Linked DNA regions of Homo sapiens: region 2 is linked to region 1. The links are contacts of gene promoters, found by promoter capture Hi-C in human tissues and cell types (Jung and others, 2019). All regions are on one chromosome and are shown on one strand. The core of a region is centred on a gene start or on the middle of the fragment in contact, and the rest is flanking DNA. Distances in the headings are between cores, read along the strand shown. Region 1 holds the start of CSH2 (chorionic somatomammotropin hormone 2). Region 2 holds the start of CD79B (CD79b molecule).

The links. The method cuts DNA at HindIII sites, captures the fragments that hold promoters and counts their contacts. A contact is called where the count stands out against the background at its distance.
Region 2: a contact is called between the fragment with the promoter of CD79B here and the fragment with the promoter of CSH2 in region 1, in 1 of the 25 tissues and cell types used here (mesenchymal stem cells).

The regions. Positions count from the first base shown.
Region 1 is chr17:63,872,415-63,876,067 of GRCh38, reverse strand. It overlaps CSH2 (chorionic somatomammotropin hormone 2), which reads left to right and starts at 2,391. Exons shown (of 5, transcript NM_020991.4): 1 at 2,391-2,463; 2 at 2,729-2,889; 3 at 3,114-3,233; 4 at 3,327-3,491. The coding sequence starts at 2,454. The HindIII fragment of the contact is 22,462 bases long and covers 1-3,653 here.
Region 2 is chr17:63,930,945-63,934,586 of GRCh38, reverse strand. It overlaps CD79B (CD79b molecule), which reads left to right and starts at 2,256. Exons shown (of 6, transcript NM_000626.4): 1 at 2,256-2,392; 2 at 3,202-3,252. The coding sequence starts at 2,326. RefSeq lists enhancers at 601-1,005, 1,580-1,629, 1,640-1,749, 1,606-2,276, 2,250-2,639 and 2 more and a silencer at 3,337-3,406. The HindIII fragment of the contact is 19,928 bases long and covers 1-3,642 here.

The DNA.
Region 1 (3,653 bases), core at 1,142-3,641:
TTGAGAAAGAACAATCTGCCCCTTATGGAAAGACAAAATCAGGCAAAGGGCCCCTTGTGTTGGGGACAGGATCCCTGCACTCAGAGAGATTTAGAAGCTGAAATAACTGGGTTGGGGGCGGTGACTCACGCCATTAATCTCAGTACTTTGGGAGGCCAGGGAGGGTGGATCACCTAAAGTCAAGAGTTCGAGACCAGCCTGGCCAACATAGTGAAACCCCGTCTCTACTAAAAAAGTACAAAACTTAGCCCGGCATAGTGGTGGGCACCTGTAATCCCAGCTACTTGGGAGGCTGAGGCGGGAGAATCACTGGAACCCAGGAGGTGGAGGTTGCAGTGAGGCAAGATCATGCCACTGCACTCCAGCCTGGGAGACAGAATGAGACTCCATCAAAAACAAGAAAGAAAGAAAGAAGGAAGGAAGGAAAGAAGGAAGGAAGGAAGAAAGGAAGGAAGGAAAGAAAGAAAGAAAGAAAGAAAGAAAGAAAGAAAGAAAGAAAGAAAGAAAGAAAGAAAAAGAAAGAAAGAAGGAAGGAAGGAAAGAAGGAAGGAAGGAAGAAAGGAAGGAAGGAAAGAAAGAAAGAAAGAAAAAGAAAGAAAGAAAGAGAAAGAAAAAGGAAAGCAAGAAAGAAAAGAAAGAAAGAAAGAAAGAAAAAGAAAGAAGGAAAGAAAAGAAACTAAAATAACTAAATAACTGAGTAGCACCACACCACCTGCTCTGGAGAAAGGACTTTTGTTGTTGTTGTTGTTGTTGTCGTCGTTGTTGTGGTTGTTGAAATGGAGTCTCACTCTGGCGCCCAGGCTGGAGTGCCATGGCCCAATCTTGGCTCACGGCAACCTCTGCGTCCTGGGTTCAAGCGATTCTACCTCCTCACCCTCCGGAGTAACTGGGATTGCAGGCTTCTGCCACCACACACAGCTACTTTTGTACTTTTAAGAGATGGAGTTTTGCCATGTTGGCTAGTCTGGCCTTGAACTGACCTCAAGTGATCCACCCACCTCAGTCTTCCAAAGTGCTGGGATTACAGGCATGAGCCACCGTGCCCGGCCTGGAGAAAGGACTTTAAATGATGCAATGTGGGAAGAGCAAGGTTGTGGAGATCTGCTGCCCTGGCTGAGGTAGCTCATGTAATCAGTCTCTCTGAGCCTCAGTCTCCTGATCTGTGAAATGGGATGATACTCATACCTCCTACACAAGACAAGTGGCAGATCAGACGTGAGAATGCACAGGCAGGCCTTTGACAACTGGATAAGCTCTACACAGGTCTGGAAAGGAGGAAGAGACAAAAGAGGACGGGCTTCCATGGCTGGATAGGGCATCTTTCGGCGTGATGTGTTCTGAGTTCCAAAGCTGGGAAGAGACTCAAATCTTTTTTTTCTTTTTTTTTAATTATTATTATTCTTTTACTTTAAGTTTTAGGGTACATGTGCACAATGTGCAGGTTAGTTACATGTGTATACCTGTGCCATGCTGGTGTGCTGCACCCATTAACTTGTCATTTAGCATTAGGTATATCTCCTAAAGCTATCCCTCCCCCCTCCCCCCACCCCACAACAGTCCCCAGAGTGTGATGTTCCCCTGAGACTCAAATCTTCAAGAGCTCTTCCAACCTTGAGATTCTCTGATGGTTTCAGGGCTGTGGGAGGAAGCGCTTGTGGTCCGTGTCTGTTCCCGGGATTTCTGTTTCTTGGTTTGTGTCTCTGCTGCAGGTCCAAGGAGCTGAGGCAATACCTTGAGTCTGGGTTCTTCGTCCCCAGTGACCTGGGGGAGCCCCACCGCCTCCGCCCCAAGGTTCAGGGAAAGGGGAGAGCAATGTGTGGGGTTGGTTCTCTCTAGTGGTCAGTGTTAGCACTGCATCCAGCTGACTCAGGTGGGCCCAGGAGTCATCAGCAAAAGTGGAATTCAGGACTCAATGGTGCTCAGAACCCCCACAATCTATTGGCTGTGCTTGGCCCCTTTTCCCAACACACACATTCTGTCTGGTGGGTGGAAGTTAAACACGCGGGGAGGAGGAAAGGAATAGGATAGAGAGTGGAATGGGGTCGGTAGGGGTCTCAAGGACTGGCTATCCTGACAGCCTTCCCCGCATTCAGGTTGACCAACATGGCCTGCGGCCAGAGGGCACCCACCTGACCCTTAAAGAGAGGACAAGTTGGGTGGAGTCTGTGGCTGACACTCTGTGCACAATCCTTACAACACTGGTGATGGTGAGAAGGGAAAGACGACAAGCCAGGGGGCATGATCCCAGCATGTGTGGGAGGAGCTTCCAAATTATCCATTAGCACAAGCCCGTCAGTGGCCCCATGCATAAATGTACACAGAAACAGGTGGGGTCAAGCAGGGAGAGAGAACTGGCCAGGGTATAAAAAGGGCCCACAAGAGACCGGCTCTAGGATCCCAAGGCCCAACTCCCCGAACCACTCAGGGTCCTGTGGACAGCTCACCTAGCGGCAATGGCTGCAGGTAAGCGCCCCTAAAATCCCTTTGGGCACAACGTGTCCTGAGGGGAGAGGCAGCGCCCTGTAGATGGGACGGGGGCACTAACCCTCAGGTTTGGGGCTTATGAATGTGAGTATCGCCATCTAAGGCCAGATATTTGGCCAATCTCTGAATGTTCCTGGTCTCTGGAGGGATGGAGAGAGAGAAAAAAACAAACAGCTCCTGGAGCAGGGAGAGCGCTGGCCTCTTCCTCTCCGGCTCCCTCCATTGCCCTCCGGTTTCTCCCCAGGCTCCCGGACGTCCCTGCTCCTGGCTTTTGCCCTGCTCTGCCTGCCCTGGCTTCAAGAGGCTGGTGCCGTCCAAACCGTTCCGTTATCCAGGCTTTTTGACCACGCTATGCTCCAAGCCCATCGCGCGCACCAGCTGGCCATTGACACCTACCAGGAGTTTGTAAGTTCTTGGGGAATGGGTGCGGGTCAGGGGTGGCAAGAAGGGGTGACTTTCCCCCACTGGGGAAGTAATGGGAGGAGACTAAGGAGCTCAGGGTTGTTTTCTGAAGCGAAAATGCAGGCAGATGAGCATAGGCTGAGCCAGGTTCCCAGAAAAGCAACAATGGGAGCTGGTCTCCAGCATAGAAACCAGCAGTCCTTCTTGGTGGGGGGTCCTTCTCCTAGGAAGAAACCTATATCCCAAAGGACCAGAAGTATTCATTCCTGCATGACTCCCAGACCTCCTTCTGCTTCTCAGACTCTATTCCGACACCCTCCAACATGGAGGAAACGCAACAGAAATCCGTGAGTGGATGCCGTCTCCCCTAGGCGGGGATGGGGGAGACCTGTGGTCAGGGCTCCCGGGCAGCACAGCCACTGCCGGTCCTTCCCCTGCAGAATCTAGAGCTGCTCCGCATCTCCCTGCTGCTCATCGAGTCGTGGCTGGAGCCCGTGCGGTTCCTCAGGAGTATGTTCGCCAACAACCTGGTGTATGACACCTCGGACAGCGATGACTATCACCTCCTAAAGGACCTAGAGGAAGGCATCCAAACGCTGATGGGGGTGAGGGTGGCGCCAGGGGTCGCCAATCCTGGAACCCCACTGGCTTAGAGGGCTGGGGGAGAGAAACACTGCTGCCCTCTTTGTAGCAGTCAGGCGCTGACCCAAGAGAACTCACCTTATTCTTCATTTCGCCTGGTGAATCCTCCAGGCCCTTCTCTACAC
Region 2 (3,642 bases), core at 1,007-3,506, 59 kb before region 1:
CGGGCAGCCGAGGGCAGAGGCAGGGGTAGGCTTGTGAGGCCTCCTGTTCTGGGAAGAAAAGGGCATCATGAGCCCAAAATGGGGCTCAGGGCTGTTGTCACCAGTGAGGGAACAGCACGGCTCAAAATGTGACAAATAACCCTGCAGGCGGTGGGGCCCCCGCTGCCTCCGCCCCTCCTGAAAACAGATCCCTGCCCGGCATGAATGGGAATGAAGCCCAAAGGCCACATCTGCATCCTTGTCCACGGGATGTGTGTGTCTTCCCTCCCTGGAGTGGGAGCTGCTTCTCACTTGTTTTTTTAAATTTTTTATTTCAATATTTTCTGGGGTACAGGTAGTTTTTTTGGTTACCTGGATAAGTTCTTTAGTGGTGATTTCTGAGATTTTAGCGCACCTGTCACCTGAGGATGGGTGCCAACTGCCCCCCACCAACCTCCGTGCCCCCTACAGTCCGCTGAGCCCTAGGACCAGCTCCAGAGTAGGCCCCACACCACAGGGTCCAGGCAACACACCTGTGTGAGCATGCACATACACACACACACACACCCCCCACAAACACGTGTGCCCCAAGCCTTTCCCAGTTATACCCCCCAACTTTGGGGAGACACTAGCCCCAAAGTTAATGAAGGACTCTGTCGTTAGGGGCTCAGGAAGAGTATTTCCTAAACCATGAGACTCCCAGATTTTGCCCCACTCCCCCCGGGTCAGTCTCTCTCCAGCCACCCTCACCAGCATGCGGGCCCATGGGCCTCAAGCTGACCTCAGGTGATGTTTATATTTCTGAGCTGTTTATTCCATGAACTGAACATCTGACAGCTTTTCAGAGAAATGTTTTTTCATTTGGAACATCTGGAAACAAGAAAGAACATCTGGGGCTGCCCGGAACGGGCTGTTCCTCGGATGAAACCTTAACCCTCCTGCCCCTGACTTCCGTGGCTCAGGTCCTGGCCTGCACCCCTTGAGAGTGGCCCCCACCTTATCAGGTCCGAGGCCTAGGCCAAGATCTAAAGAGGGACCACCCAGACCCTCTGCCTTCCAACCATGGCATGGGAGGTGGTTCTGCTTCTCCCTAAATCCAGACAGACCTGCCCCAGCACAGACTGGAAAACGGAGGGTTGTGAGGAGAGTGAGAGGTGGACAGAGGGCACCGACGATTTAGCATCTCTTCCTCTCCTGGGGGTCGAGGATGAGAGACAAAAAAGAAGCTGCCAGGAAACATAAAATTCAGAGGGCTCAGCTGCAGGGCTGAGGTCTGCAAGCATGCTGTGTACACTTGTGCATGTTGTGCCCTGCACAAGGGCATCTCTGAAGGGGCTGCATTGGACCCAGGGGCAGGGGCGCAAAGGTGAGTTTATATCAGTTCCTGAGCACTGTGGCTCCATCCAGCACTCTGAGGACAGGCAGGATACAGCTGGAGGACCTGAGGGCTCCCCCACACCAGCTCCTGTTCCCTGCCCAAGACCCCCTGGACCTGCAGACAACAATTCAACGCACTCAGAGTCCCACAGTTAAGAACTCCCTGAAGAAGCCCCCAGTGGCTGCGTGGTGGATTTTCGCAAAGCTGTCTCCACCTACATCCACCCTGTTTGGCAGCCCCTACATACTCTTTCACAGCATGAGGAAGGGAGGCCTCTCACCAAGACCTGGACTGAATCTTCTCCCAGTGGCTGCCACACTTGACCTGCTCTTGCTCCAGAACCTCTGTGGCTCCCATCCTCCACAGGGTCAACTTCCAACATGGCTGCCTGCACTCCAGCCAAGAGGCTCTGCTCTGGGCCCCTCCAGATGCCTGACCTGGGTCTGTGGCTGCCCTGTCCTTCTTCAGTGCTCCTCTTCCCGCTGGGTGAGGAATAGTTCAGGACAGAGGAGCTAAGTTCAGGTTCATTCATAGGACAGGTGCCTATTTCGCTCACGGCCCAGGAATAGAGACTTGCCGGGCTCGGCCCTTCGGGGAGTTGGCAGACGGCAGAGGGGAGGCTGGCTGGCCCAGGGGATGACCACCGGTGGGGTAAGCACAGACAGAGGGGAGCACAGGCTTCCCCCAGAAGACTGAGAGGCCCCCCAGAGGCATCCACAGAGGACCCCAGCTGTGCTGCCCAAGCTGGGCGACCGCCAAACCTTAGCGGCCCAGCTGACAAAAGCCTGCCCTCCCCCAGGGTCCCCGGAGAGCTGGTGCCTCCCCTGGGTCCCAATTTGCATGGCAGGAAGGGGCCTGGTGAGGAAGAGGCGGGGAGGGGACAGGCTGCAGCCGGTGCAGTTACACGTTTTCCTCCAAGGAGCCTCGGACGTTGTCACGGGTTTGGGGTCGGGGACAGAGCGGTGACCATGGCCAGGCTGGCGTTGTCTCCTGTGCCCAGCCACTGGATGGTGGCGTTGCTGCTGCTGCTCTCAGGTACAGAACCCACGACGAGGCCTGTGGGGTTTGCTCTCATCTCCAGCTGTCTGGGCCCTGCGGCTCTGCCTCCTGCTTGCTCCACCCTCCTCCTCTGTCTCTCACTCTTTACCGCCTGTCTCCCTCTCATGGCCCTGGGGCCTGGGTCTGTGGGTGTCAGCTGCACGTGGTGATGGGCTCAGGAGCCTGTGGCCCCAGTTCCTCTCCTGCCTGGAGAGCATCAGGCTGAGCTGGGCATGAGGAGCAAACCAGAGTTAGCAACCAGGACCGTGGAAGAACTAGGCTCAGGAGGAAGAGAGGCTGAGGGCGGTGCCTGGGGGTCGGGAGGGGAGAGGCTGTCCCAACCGGACCCTGGAAGATGCAAGATCCAAATGTGGTCCCCTCCTCTGGGAGGTGAAAGATCCTCCGGGCTGTGACTTTCTTCCTGTCTCTCTTTAAAAAAAAAAAAAAAAAGAGAGACAGGGTGTCCCTATGTTGCCCAGGCTGGTCTCAAACTCCTGGACCCAAGCGATCCTCCTGTCTTGGCCTCTCAAAATACTGAGATTTCCCTGTCCCTCCTGTCTCATTCAGATGCCTGCTCAAAGCCACCATGAGGGTCAAAGGCAGAAAGGGGGCTGGGGGCAGGGCTTCCGGTACCCCCACCCCATATCTGTCTCCCAAGTACTGGGGGCAGGGAGGACCGAGGGGTCTTGAAGCTGCTGTCATGGAAGGAGGAAGTAGCTCCGGGAACATAGAGGGCATGCAGGGGTGGGGCAGCCCAGGCCAGAGGAGGCCCTGACTGGCCCCGCCCACTTCCTCCCACCCAGCAGCTGAGCCAGTACCAGCAGCCAGATCGGAGGACCGGTACCGGAATCCCAAAGGTCAGTAGCCTCGCCTGCCGCTTCTGAGGGCAAGTTGTGTGCGACTATGTCCTGTGTCCGACTATGGTCCCTGTCCTGGGGGCGGTCCGCCTTCCCACCCTTGCCTGATCTCCCCATCCAGGATTCCCATCCCCAGGCCTCCTTAGGATCTCCTCTGAGCCCCACCCCCAGCCCACTGTCATCCTCATCAGACACATGCCCTCCAGCCTTGGCCACTGAAGGGCTGGGCTAAACTCTGGGTCATAGCAAGGGAGCCTGGGGGTTCCTCTAGGACTCAGGCCCGGGCCTGTCTAGCTGGGAATCTGGCTGAGTCTCGGGTGAGCCCTCCAGTGCAGGGTCACTATGTGAGGGGCTCAGGGATTCCCGGGCAGTGCTCACTAAGAACAAGGC